Linked DNA regions of Homo sapiens: region 1 is linked to region 2. The links are contacts of gene promoters, found by promoter capture Hi-C in blood cells and fetal thymus (Javierre and others, 2016). All regions are on one chromosome and are shown on one strand. Each heading gives the region's core, a stretch centred on a gene start or on the middle of the fragment in contact. The rest is flanking DNA. Distances are from core to core; before and after follow the strand shown.

The links. The method cuts DNA at HindIII sites, captures the fragments that hold promoters and counts their contacts. A CHiCAGO score of 5 or more calls a contact.
Region 1: a fragment that was not itself captured here is called in contact with the fragment with the promoter of CDH19 in region 2 in 1 of 17 cell types (M0 macrophages); the score reaches 5.8 in M0 macrophages.

The regions. Positions count from the first base shown.
Region 1 is chr18:66,723,619-66,730,036 of GRCh38, reverse strand. No RefSeq gene overlaps it. Among named protein-coding and RNA genes, the nearest start is that of CDH19, 120 kb to the right of the region's middle. The HindIII fragment of the contact is 2,687 bases long and covers 3,169-5,855 here.
Region 2 is chr18:66,601,314-66,607,842 of GRCh38, reverse strand. It overlaps CDH19 (cadherin 19), which reads left to right and starts at 3,753. Exons shown (of 12, transcript NM_021153.4): 1 at 3,753-3,889. The HindIII fragment of the contact is 9,771 bases long and covers 1,982-6,529 here.

The sequences.
Region 1 (6,418 bases), core at 3,263-5,762, 120 kb before region 2:
ATGGCATTTTGAAACAAATTGGCCTTTGTACTCTGCGGTCATAGCCTTGAGATATGAATAATTTTCCAAGCAACATTTCAAAATAAGGGAAGTGTTCATCACAAGATGGAAAACAAAATAGTCAAGCAATAGAATGTTAGGAAGATGAGCATGAACCCATCATTACATTGCTTATAGGCATGTTCCATAGTTATCATTTTCTATCAGTGCAAAATATAATATATGGATTGGAAAAAAAAAGTCCAAATAGAAAAATGTTAATAACTCTATGCTAGTTTAAGAAGAACGATGTAGCAAAACTGATGATTGAAGAATGATGTGAAAACACATTCAGTACAGTGTGGGTGGGAGAATTTCCTCACAAACCCCCTGAGATATACATTTCCAGTCTCTGAGTTACAGCCTCTGCTTTCTGTCCACCCTTTTCAGTTGTCCTGGCTATTGTCTAAGTTAGTGCCAGAAGTCTGGTTTTAAATATAGGGAAAAACAGCCAAGATGAAAATGCACCTAGAGTTTAAAGTTAGCAAATGCAGAAATGTTTCACAGAATAAGATGAGAAACTTGAATAATTTTGCTAGGTTATCCATATTTGCCAACTGACTGGTGAATAGATTAACTCAATATATGGGTCTTCTTTTGTCTTTTTTTTTTTTTTTTTTTTTGGCAGAGTCTCACTCTGTCACCTAGTCTGGTGTGCAGTGGTGAGATCTTGGCTCACTGCAAACTCTGCCTCCTGGGTTAAAGCGATTCCCCTGCCTCAGCCGCCTGAGTAGCTGGAATTATAGGCAGCACCACCACATCCAGCTAATTTTTGTATTTTTAGTGGAAACGGGGTTTCAACATGTTGGCCAAGCTGTTCTCAAACTCCTAACTTCAAGTGATCCAGCCAACTCGGCCTCCCAAAGTGCCAGGATTGCAAGTGTGAGCCACCGCACCTGGCCTTTTTTCTAATTCTTATGTCAGCTAACTATTGGGCAAATAGTATAACCTCCATCAACTTCATTTTTTTAAGCTGTAAATAGAGGAAGTTAAACTAATGGTTCTTGAGATTCCATGCAGTGAAAACATGTATAAAGTTTTAAAATAATTCTATGGATTGAAATGACGTTGATTTGACATTTGATATATATTCTAGAAAAAAATACAAATCCCAACCAAAAGTAATAAATGATATTTAAATTACAAACTGTCAGATAAACAGTGACGTCTCTTTTGTTTACCTCATTTAAATGTTGATAAGAGGAAATGGAATTGAAATCCAAATTATACTGTCCAGCTGAATCAGAAGTAATTTGAGACCTTGGAGAAGCTGGAAAGGTGGACTAGAAACACACAAAACAGAAGAAGAATTCTACAAAAAAGGTAACATGAATGCCACACATTTTCCAATATGAGATTTTGCTCAGAAATCACACAGACTGATGATTGGATTGAGAGACAAATCTTATAAATAATTTTATTGTACGACTAGAAATATTAAAATAAATATCAATTTCTAAAAGTTTTCTAAAAATGAACATGAAATTTTATTTTTCATGTGCATCAGCTACACTTTGATTTCTTGAATGTAGCAAATGTTTATAGTATATGTAATCTGGACATATTTTGAATATAATATTTATTATAATGTTGTGTTTTGAAATACTAATACATTTGTAAAAATGTCAACATCAACTTCATGGTCATTAGTTTTTCTCTGTGAAATGGTATTCAAATCCTTCAAGAAAACAGGTGTGAAAAACACTTGATACAGGAAAATAAAATTGAATATGATAAAAACACAGAAGGTGTTTCATCACAAGCTCAGCAAGTGCAAGTGGTGTATCTAAAGATTGTGCAAGTCAGGAACCACTGTCACATCCTGTTGCATTAACCAGCTCCCATTATGCCAAAGTATCTTCATTCTTTCTATATTTGATTTCTGCTCTTAAGTAGGGGCCAGAAATCATCATTTGCTTTGAATATTCTGATAGAGGTGAACTCTCAGCTACCACCAATTAAATGCCTTTCAATATAGTCTTGACTTCTATACTAGGGAATATCCGGGCCCCTTCTACAACTAATTCTGAATATGCTTTGGCATTATTTTCAAGTTATCCCAATCTGGACAGAAAAATTGGAGGATTCTTGGTCTCTTAGGCACCACGGTATCTCGGGAGTCTGTAAAGTTTGCTGCACATTTTTCAAGGATAGATTTAATTTTTATTTTCTTCTTTACACTTCCTGCATTTTGCAGTGATAGTTTTATTCTTATGGCTGCATATACAAAAAAATTCTTTTTATTTCTAATATACATAGAGTAAAACACATACACACAAAGACACACATACATACATAGACAATATATATTTTTGATGTCTCCTAGATTAATTTTCTCATGAATATTCCTTACTTTTCAAAATTGTTTTGTAAGCTAAGGAGCATAACTTGTGTTTTCATTCTTAAAAGCATATAGTTAATAATAATGTATATTGCATATTTCAAAGTAAGTAGAAGAGAGGACTTTAAATGTTCTAATCACAAAAAATATAATGACAGGCGGAAAGGCGCGGTGGCTCATGCCTGTAATCCCAGTACTTTGGGATGCCAAGACGGGCAGATCACTTGAGGTCAGGAGTTCGAGACCAGCCTGGCCAAAATGGTGAAATCCCGTCTCTACTAAAAATACAAAAATTAGCCTGGCGTGGTGGTGCTCGACTGTATTCCCAGCTACTTAGGAGGCTGAGGCATGAGAATCACTTGAATCCGGGAGGCAGAGGTTGCAGTGAGCCAAGATTGCACCCTGCTCTCCAGCCCAGAAGGTAGAGTGAAACTGTGTCTCATAAAAAAAAAAAAAAGTGTTCGAAGTGATGGATATGTTAATTACCCTGATTTGATCATTGCACAATGTATCCATGTATTGAAACATAACATAGTCCACCAATAATATGTACAATTATCATCTGTCAATTACAAACAAAAATAAATATTATTTTAAAAGCACACAGTGAAATATTTTCATATACAACTCACTGAAAAAAACATAATGGTCAAGATTTATCAAATCTTAACTTGTGGGAGAGTTTGTGCTAAGTGAAATTACCATCTCTAGTTGTTAGATGAAATGAGTGAGGCTTTGGTTAAATGAGTTGAGGTCACAGGGCCTGCAAGACAATGCATGTTAAAGCTTAGTCTATTCGATTTCAAGATCATGCATTTCATTTATTTGCAAGTGTCACCCTATTATTTTCTGCCATTCTGTTTATAATGGTTTATACCAACTGAGCATATCAGAAATATATACTGTAATCCAAAATAAACTTCTTTAAGTTTCATCTTGCAGCTTTTCCCCAATTTTGTGAATGTATGATTCAGGATTTTGGGTGCGTTCCATGAGTTTTGCACACTAGTTTGATCAGCCACAGATAACCTGTGAGCTATGTGTGTAGCTATAATCCGTGTGCTGTGTATGCATTTGATTCATTTACCTGCAGTGGCCAGGCATCAGTCAAACTGTGACCAATCTATTGTCCTCATCAAGGCATGGGAGCCTTTGCCCTTCATTTGCCTTCTCTGATTCCTCCATTGCCTGCTTTTGCTGTGAAAAGACAGCTAGATTAGAGCAGGGCCCTGCCTTCCAGGGACTCACATCTAGTAGGAAAGAAAAGGCAAAGGCATAAGTTGATGAGTGAATTTTAAAATGTAGTAGAATCATATAGTACATGTTCTGGGAGTGTTTCAATGCCACCCTCCTCTCCACCATCATGTCCTTGCTTTGGAGATCTTATAAGCATTTGACACAGTGTTCTACTTTCCCTTAGATTTTCCTATTTCTCTTTCTGGCTGCAGACCCTACAGCACAGGCTACTCACAAGATACTCCTGCACTGCTCAGGTAATATTTCCAACAACCTGTGGGGCCCTCTCTCCTGAGTCACAAGTGCCTTTATGTTATTAGGTTTCTCCTATAAACCACCATCCTAAAATAAATACATAAATAAAATGCTATGGTAAGATAAATTAATTAAACTAAACTAGCATAGTATGTATTTATCTGGCACCTTTGCTTTGGTAAGCTGGCTGGAAGGGTTTAACCAACTCTCCTCTACCCACCCAGAGAAAATGGCTCAGGATCTGTCACAGAGCTCTGGGAATCAGATATGTGAACAAGCACTATGAGCCTTCCAGTGCACCAGCTGGCATGATCCCACCCTGGAGGAGGGCCTCAGCTACCCCATTTATCTTATAAGTAGCAAAGCAATGTTTAAGTTTTATTTGTTTGTTTATTCATTTATTTATTTATTTATTTAGAGACAGTGTCTCACTCTGTGGTCCAGGCTGAGTGCAGTGGCATGATCACGGCTCACTGCAGCCTCAAACCCCTGGGCTCAAGCAAGCCTCCTGCCTCAGCCTCCCAAATAGCTGAGACTACAAGCATGTGCCACATGCCTAGAACAGTTATTATTATGATTATTTGTAGAGATTGGGTCTTTCTATGTTGCCCAGGCTGGTGTCAAACTCCTAGACACAAGCAATTCTCCCACCTCAGTTTCCCAAAGTGCTGGGATTATAGGCGTGAGCCATTATGCCCAACCACAATGCTACAGTTTCTTATTATGCCTTAAAACATACACTTTTATTAAACCTGTTTGTGTGGAGAAATATTGTACTAGAGGTGACTTTCAGTGCTTCCTACCAGTTAGACATGGTTAATTCTCTCTTCTATGTTCCTCATAAAAAGCCCTGTGCATATACCATTTATGCCTTTTACAAAAACATATTAAAATGTGAATTGACCTGAGTTTCTTTCATTTAGAAAGTAGGCAATCTGACCGCAAGAGCTAGTTTCATTTGTCCTTGCAGTTTTTATAGCAAAGCCTATGCCTGTCATATATCAGATAGACAAGAGACTTGAACTGTTTTGGGAATGAATGTATCAGAAATCACTCTGTCTTAGTGGTATTTCAGAGAGTACTCTTGATTTTACATTTTCACTGTGACTTCTGAACAATATATTCAAGATCTGTAATAACTCTGTGTTTCCTTGAGAAAAATTTGATTGTAGAACAGTCAAGTTCTACAATAAACAGCTGTTCAAAAAGGCAAATATCTGCGCTTAGGGACTAAGCTGCTCATGGAGTCAGTACTTGTGGTTTGTTTGCAAAGCCGCCTACCTTTGGCATGGTTTCTTGTATTTCCACTTCATTTCTGACTGGGGTGTGGCAACATGAACTTTCTCCTCTTATTGATTCCTAGCAGTTCACAATTCTACCACAAAGCGTGATCTTGTTTTACAATATGTCTTTGTTCAGCTTGCAAAATTCAGGACAGTACATTCTGAAATTCACTATCATTGATATAAACATAGCTTCATCCACAAGAGATATGAGCGTATGCTCTGTTCTCTGTCTTCTGAAGTTTGATTTCTTTCTCATCTGGTTCTTAATGTCATTGCTAATGTTCCTCATTTGGGAATAAATAGGAAGAATTGTAGTGACATTATAATGTGTTGTACAAGACTTTGTATACCTCATATGGGTAATGCTTTTGGAGGCTAGAGGGAAGACTTTTAAAGGATGATATTTGTATTGTCATATTTTTAAAATAAAGTCTCAGAATAAAATGATTTTGCAAAGATGCCTTCTTCATAAAGATTCTGATAAGCAATTGACAGTATAACCTGAGACTGAGAAGAAAATAGTGAATAGAATGTAAAAAAATAACTAGAGTTATTCTTTAATAACCAACCATAGCCAACTTTTTCTAATTAGTTGTGGAGCTTTTTAAAGTATATAGCAGAGATATAATGGCTTTCTACGTCCATTTAATTTTGCAGTTTTGATGTAGTAAAAGATTCTCCCAGAGTCTAAGGAAGCTTTCTGGACCCCTCTCTACTACTAACCTACTTCCCAATCCCTGTTAGAGTTCCACTTTTCCAGAAACCCACGATTACAAGTGTAAGTGCTCTCAGAACATGGCTCTCAGTTTTCTCCCACTTACACTTTCCTTTCAGACTAGAACCCTTCCTATCCCAAAGACTGAAGCAAATGCAACCTACATGCCATCTAAAGCATCAACTTCAGTTACCGTTGATGTAGCTAAAATAGCAAAAGATTTCTTAGAGGAGACAGTCTTTCTTTCTCAGATTTAAATCAGAAAGGGCCCTTTCTGCATGCTAATATTTCACATCTTGGACAGACTGAAAGATCAGCCCTCCAAAGCCAATGAATGCAGTTGTTCATATTGAACAAGCATAGCTTGTAGACTATAATAATCACACACATTTATTTGTCTCAAACTTTACTTTCAACCTAACTTAGTGGAGGAAACATTCATTCTGTCCTGAATGAAATTTCTGCAGGCCCTGAGACTTTTCTGCTCAGCGTAAGATAAAAGACAGGTCAGACATATTCCCCCTTTAGTGTCTCTATTCTTTGGTA
Region 2 (6,529 bases), core at 2,504-5,003:
ATTAAATATAAAAAGAAAAAGAAAAAAGAATGAATACAAAAATAAGAAAATAAGGACATATATATGACAATAAAATTTTTTATTATATTAGACAAGTGGCTACTGTAACTAGAATTTAAAAGATAAATCTTCAAACCATACAAATTGTTGCCATATTCAAGACAATATTTCTTTACTCTGAGCAAAATTTGTGTAATTTTGATACAAAGTATTTTAGCATGGTTAGAAGTATATAGATTAGTGAATATTTTGTTTATTGTTTGTTCTATCATTGTGCATTTTTTTATTTCCCCATATTTATCATTGTGATATATATTCAATGTTAAAAACAGAATGGAAAACACAGCAAATTGGACTGTTGGAAAAGAATGCCATTTAATGGCAATCCATGGAGAAAATTATTATTTTTATTTTCAGCATTTTAAAAGCTATTTTACATGAATATCTGAAGTGAACACTGGACGTCTAGTTGGTTATCAACTAGATTCAACCACTCCACTCTAATTTGGGGAAATGAATCTGTTTTTCTATCAACTAACTCTTTCTCTCAGGTTCAGGAATGACAATTACTTTAAGCTTTTCTTGTTGCCATTCTTTGTTCATGCATGGACAAGTGATCATTTTGATGAATAAGACGAAAGTGACAGTGTTTTTGAGGGCCTTGAGGAAAAGTTGGAGAACCAAACAGAGCCCAAGAACCTAGATAACTGATTGCAGTAGGAAGCCACTGGATCAACTAACCCTTAACCCTACTTTATTTCTCTATGTATACATTGAATTTCTTCATTATTCTATTCATTTTTGGATTTGATTTTGTTTGATTTTGCTATCTGCTTGCTAGTCAATAGATTTCTCATTGATATAGTGATAGCATACAGTAAATATCTGTTTTAAATGTTCTTGTATTAACATATTATAAGCTTTTCCCAAAACAACTTAAATATATTTTTAAGAACTAAAATGCTTCCAGACCATGTGAGAAGGATGTGGTCCTTAGATTATGCTATCCTGACAACACCTGATTGGACAAGGCCTAAATTTCTAATTGAAGGCACATGTATAGCCTATGATATAAAGTAGGTAGACTTAAACTTTCTGGTTAAATGTCTATTTTCAAGGGACAGATCAGAGCTTGCATAATGTTTGACTTTCCATTTCTGCCTGTTCAGTTAAATTCAAACTTCATTAGCCAGTCTTGTCTGCGGTTAGTCATTAGATATATATTTCTTAATTATCTGGTTTAAAAAATTGGTGGCTCTGAATTATAATACTTGAATTCAAATTTTTATTTAGAGTAACTCAATACAATCCTGGCTTCTGCAACTTCAAGCTCTGTTCCTTAGCCTGCTGGCAGGTGATAACTGTGAAATTCCCCCAGACTGCATGTGAAAATAGACCAGAATGTCACTGTGCAGCTATAAAACATCACTTGTGTTTCGGGAATTGTCCATCCTGCCACATGTTTACTGCTGTGGGGACCTCAGATAACTCTGAGTATGATAACTCTGACTTACATATGGATAGTAGTGTATTTAATTTTGAGCTTCTGTTCTTACACAGTCATGTTCCATTTACTATGTATTACCCCCCCATATATGAAAAATTAGTCAGATATATTTCTCTTGTTATAAAGAAAATGACGTAGAAGTAATCATTAAGCTGGGCCGGGTACGGTGGCTCAAGCCTGTAATCCCAGCACTTTGGGAGGCCAAGGCGGGCGGATCACGAGTCAGGAGATCGAGACCATCCTGGCTAACATGGTGAAACCCCGTCTCTACTAAAAATACAAAAAAATTAGCAGGGCGTGGTGGCGGGCGCCTGTAGTCCCAGCTACTCGGGAGGCTGAGGCAGGAGAATGGCGTGAACCCGGGAGGTGGAGCTTGCAGTGAGCCGAGATTGCGCCACTGCACTCCAGCCTGGGCGACAGAGAGAGATTCCATCTCAAAAAAAAAAAAAAAAAAAAAGAAGTAATCACTAAGCTTATCTGATGACCAGTCCCCTAAGTACTTCCAAGTCTTCATTCTTGGTTGTGGCATAGCGGATGAATCTTGCTGGATCCTTGGCTATCGGCTGTTCATCTTATATCCTCTTCCAGAAAGGGCATGCATTTCTTAAGCAATTTACAGCAACTAGTTCCTGTACGTGTTTGATAATAGATTATCTATTTAATAAAATCAGTTTGCTGTTAATGATATTCTACATAAAACATGTAGTTTCACACTGTACCTTCTTTAGAAAATTTAATCCTGTCTCACTGTGGTTTCTATAGTTGCCATTGCTCTTTATTGGTACTGTAATAATCAGGGCAGCAAATTGTGACCCACCTTTGCTCCCTTAGGCTCTAAAATAAGCCTTTGGGACATCATGTTTACAGGTACACTGAGGCTCTAAACTGTGGTTTCAATCCTAAGTGCAACTGGATATTTTATAAACATCAAGATATAAATTGGCATCTCATAAAATGTTAGATTCTTACAGAAATCCTAGACTAGGTCATAGACAGAACAGTGAATTATGTAAATAAATATTTTAAACAGGTATCTCCACCTTTTTTGATACTGTAAAAAATATGAAGGGGGAAATGTATAAGAATACTTCAGAGGTTCTTTGTAAAATTTATTTTTTCCCTATTTACTAACATCTTGAAACACTTAGAAGTGTTTTTTTCTAGCTGAATGCTTTTTTCTACCTGAAAAAATAAAATATTTCCACATTATACTGTTCCTGCTATCCACAGATCTATTCTCCCAGGTTCATCTCTTCAAGATTTGTTCATAAATTATTGATTCCTCCTAATATTCACAACCTCATAGGATGTGCATTTGTGCGTGTGTGTGCATATGTATGTGTGTGCACATGTATGTGTATGCATGTGTGCACATGTGCATGTGTGTATATGTGTGTGCTTGAGTGTCCTACTTTACTGCCCATATAGCTTTTGCCATTTCTTTCCTCAAAAGCTAAGAGGATAGTGACCAAAATATCTATCAGAATTAACAGGATGCTTGAATAATCCTGCCCCACATAGACTTTCTTATTATATAGGTATAATTTAAGAAACTTTTAATATTTTAATGTTTCTCTAGTTTGGTTCAAAAATGGTTTTTAAGTAAATAACAGCTTGAGTAAACAGCATAGAAAATACATATGTATTTTATGTTAAATAATAATAGCTTATATCAAAATCTAATTATAACCATGAATAAAATAAAAGATTTTACATAATAATAAACCAAGGAAAAGAAAAGGACTTATTAAAGTTTAGACATTTCTCTCTCATTATGTCTTTACTTGATTTCTGAGGAGAAATGACCGAATTAAGAAACAGCCATGAGGCATAGACACACAGTGGAAAATCATTTCTCTTTTCAGTAAGTTTTGGGTCTGCTTTAAATTGATCATTTGTTTCATCAGCTAATCCCCAAACAGAGGGCACGTCCGCTCTACTTGCAAAATTCTTGTATGTAAGTTGAATTCTCCCTTTATCAACTCAGGCCAATAAGTACTTTATTTTGTTTTTGCTTGTTGTTAGGGGAAAAAAAAAAAAAACAAAGATAATCAGCTCATACTACTTGCGTAGCTGTCTGCATTTTAATTCCAGACTATGAACGAGCGTCAGAGTGCCCTTATGATATTTTGCACAAAAGGCTCAGTGTTTATGACTCTACTCAGAGAACCCAAAATAGCATTGAGTAAGCAGTGACATACTGACAGTGTTGTGGTACTAAAAGCACAAGCGTCTGTAACTCTGGGCAATGGGGCACATCGAGAGTTTGCTGAGAAGACTGTGAAGCAAAAAGAAGAAAGTTTTTCCTACTCTTCCTTATGTGTCCAACACGAAGTTTGCTGTTCAGTTTTCACAGAACTTCTAGAAGTTGAAGTTACAAAGGTAAGACTGTGATAATCAGGCATATTATAAACTACATGCATCATCTTTAATGAGTCAATAGGTCAAAAAGTACATGACAAAATGTTGCTAGGAAAATATTCTAAAAATATTAAGGAAAATATTTACATAGGAAATAAGGAAAATATTCTAAAAATTTTAAAACCATGATGTGTACTTGTACTGAACTTTCTCAAAACACGTATTTGTGAGAACAGTTCTCCATCTCTGTAATACAGATTGTTGGTGTTGGGGGGAAGTTACACCTATGTTAGGATATTTAAAACTTCTCAAGTTTCTTAGAATAAATGAATCAACCTTTCTTTGCATGTCTTTCTTTGCACTTTTTTCTTTGTTCAGGGTTTTATTTTTTATTTATCATGTATTTACCATGTATATCAGGTAATATGAACAATAGAGTTGTCATCATTAAGTATATGAGAAAAAATATATACAGAATAAATATGAAAAATTTTAAGTATATTATAATTCCAAAAAAATTAAAATATTAGCATTGCTATGAATAAAAACACATATATGCCTAAAATTGTACAGGCATATTAATTTACCTATATGTATTATAACATTTATACATAACACAAAAGGTAATTTCTCAAATATGAAAGTATAAATTAAGAAAAGTATAAATTAGGAAAATGCATACTGTAAAAGACATTTTATATTGTTTCAATTCTAATTTGGTACATGCAATTTTAATTGAATAACTAATTATAATAAAATATTTCAAAATAAGTTTACCAAAGGGATTTAATAAATCTATTAAATATAAAAACATAAAATATTTAGCAACAAAAAATACCTAAATAGAGTGGCAAAGGTTTTCTTTAGATTATGTCAATTTATATTTTAGCTCTATTAATTCATTTGTTGAATTAATATATCTGTAAGAAAGACATTATTTAGATAAAATATTTGAAAATTTAGTAATATATATTTATGTTTTAGATGTAGTTACAATATTAAGTAAAATTATATGCATTAATATATTCTTTTTTCAAATTCTTAATATTGTAATTATCAGCAGTATGCCTACTTACTATAATTTTTGATTTCAAAGAATTTAAATTTCAATGTAATGTGAACATTTATATTGACCAAATAAAATAACTAACAATTTATTTTTAAAAGGAATAAGCATTTCATTATTGTCTGCAATTATTCAAAATTTTTAAACAATCAATTTATGTCATTTAGAAACCACCAGATCTCCTTTCCTTTACATATGTTTTCCACTTTACCAAGCCTTTATAACAGTGAACGAAATGCTCATATCATTATATAAATATCTGATTTTTACAGTCTTACACATTAGTAAATTCTTTACTTAGGCTCCAGTGAAATATTTATAATTTTAGGCACACACAGACACATCTGCATATATCGAAAAGCATATGTCTTCTACTTATATTTTTTGTTTTGTTTTGTTTTTCACTTAGGAATGTTTGTAAGGTACATTTCCTCAAGAAACATAAAAAAATTTTTGATTAAATTATCATAAATTGAAGATGCTTTAAAATGATGTGCACAGATGCCTCCTATGCATTATTAAGAAACCAGATCCATCTTTCAGGAATTTCTCCTAATACAGCTACATATAATCTGATACATATCATCTATAACTAAATATCAACTGATCATTTTTGCCACTCATGATCTTAGCATGTACTCTTAAATATATGTTATGTTTAAAACATTACATAGCAGTATTCAGCATGTTAGTGAGTAGTAATGCATTAGGAATAAATGTGTTAAACTGTTTAAAAGGAGATATTGATCTTTCTATATACCTTCTTTACATGAGAATTTATTGCTCCTAACCAAGTGTTTGAGAACCATGCTGGTGAATAAGAAAAATTTGTTGTCACGACGATTTCCTTTAACATCGATGATCTTCTATCACCTGTATCTTTGCTTTGGTGAAACAGATTGAAGTTGAAACACAACTAAGTATGGAACGTAATAATAATCCCACAGGAATCCTTTCTATCAATGGTGAAGACAGCCCCTGATTGACAAAATGAGTGTCTTTGCAAAAGTGACTAGAAAGATGTTTGCCACTTTAAAATCAAATCAAAACAAAACAAGATAAACTGTACCCTTACAGCGTTTTTTTTTACCCACTCTCACCACCTTTCAATTGAGAGAACACAGCTAAATGCTCTAAAGCCTGTCAAAATGTGTAACAGATCAATTTCCTTTTCAAATGATGCCTGCCCTCTTGAATATGCTGATATGATTCGTTAAGAGAATGCTTGTCTGAATTTAAAACATACTCTAGAATACATACCTTTGTCAAAATGTGTCACATTAATTACTCAATAATTATATTCAGAATCATCCAAGTATGTCTTAAGATTAAAGCAAAACATCATTTTTAAAAATCCTGCCTTGGCACAACACGTGAAATTTGAAATGTTATTTTAGGACAGTGGTTTCTCAACATACCAGAGCAGTAGATCCAGTTTAGCTGTTTTTTAATTCTAAGAAGTTTCATGATAAATGAAATTTGCAAATTTGCAAGATACTGTATTAAAGTGGGGATAATTTTGGCACATCAGTCATGTCTTAAAATAACCTAGGCAGTTTTATCTGTGTGCAAAATTTAGAAATGTCATTCCTGTG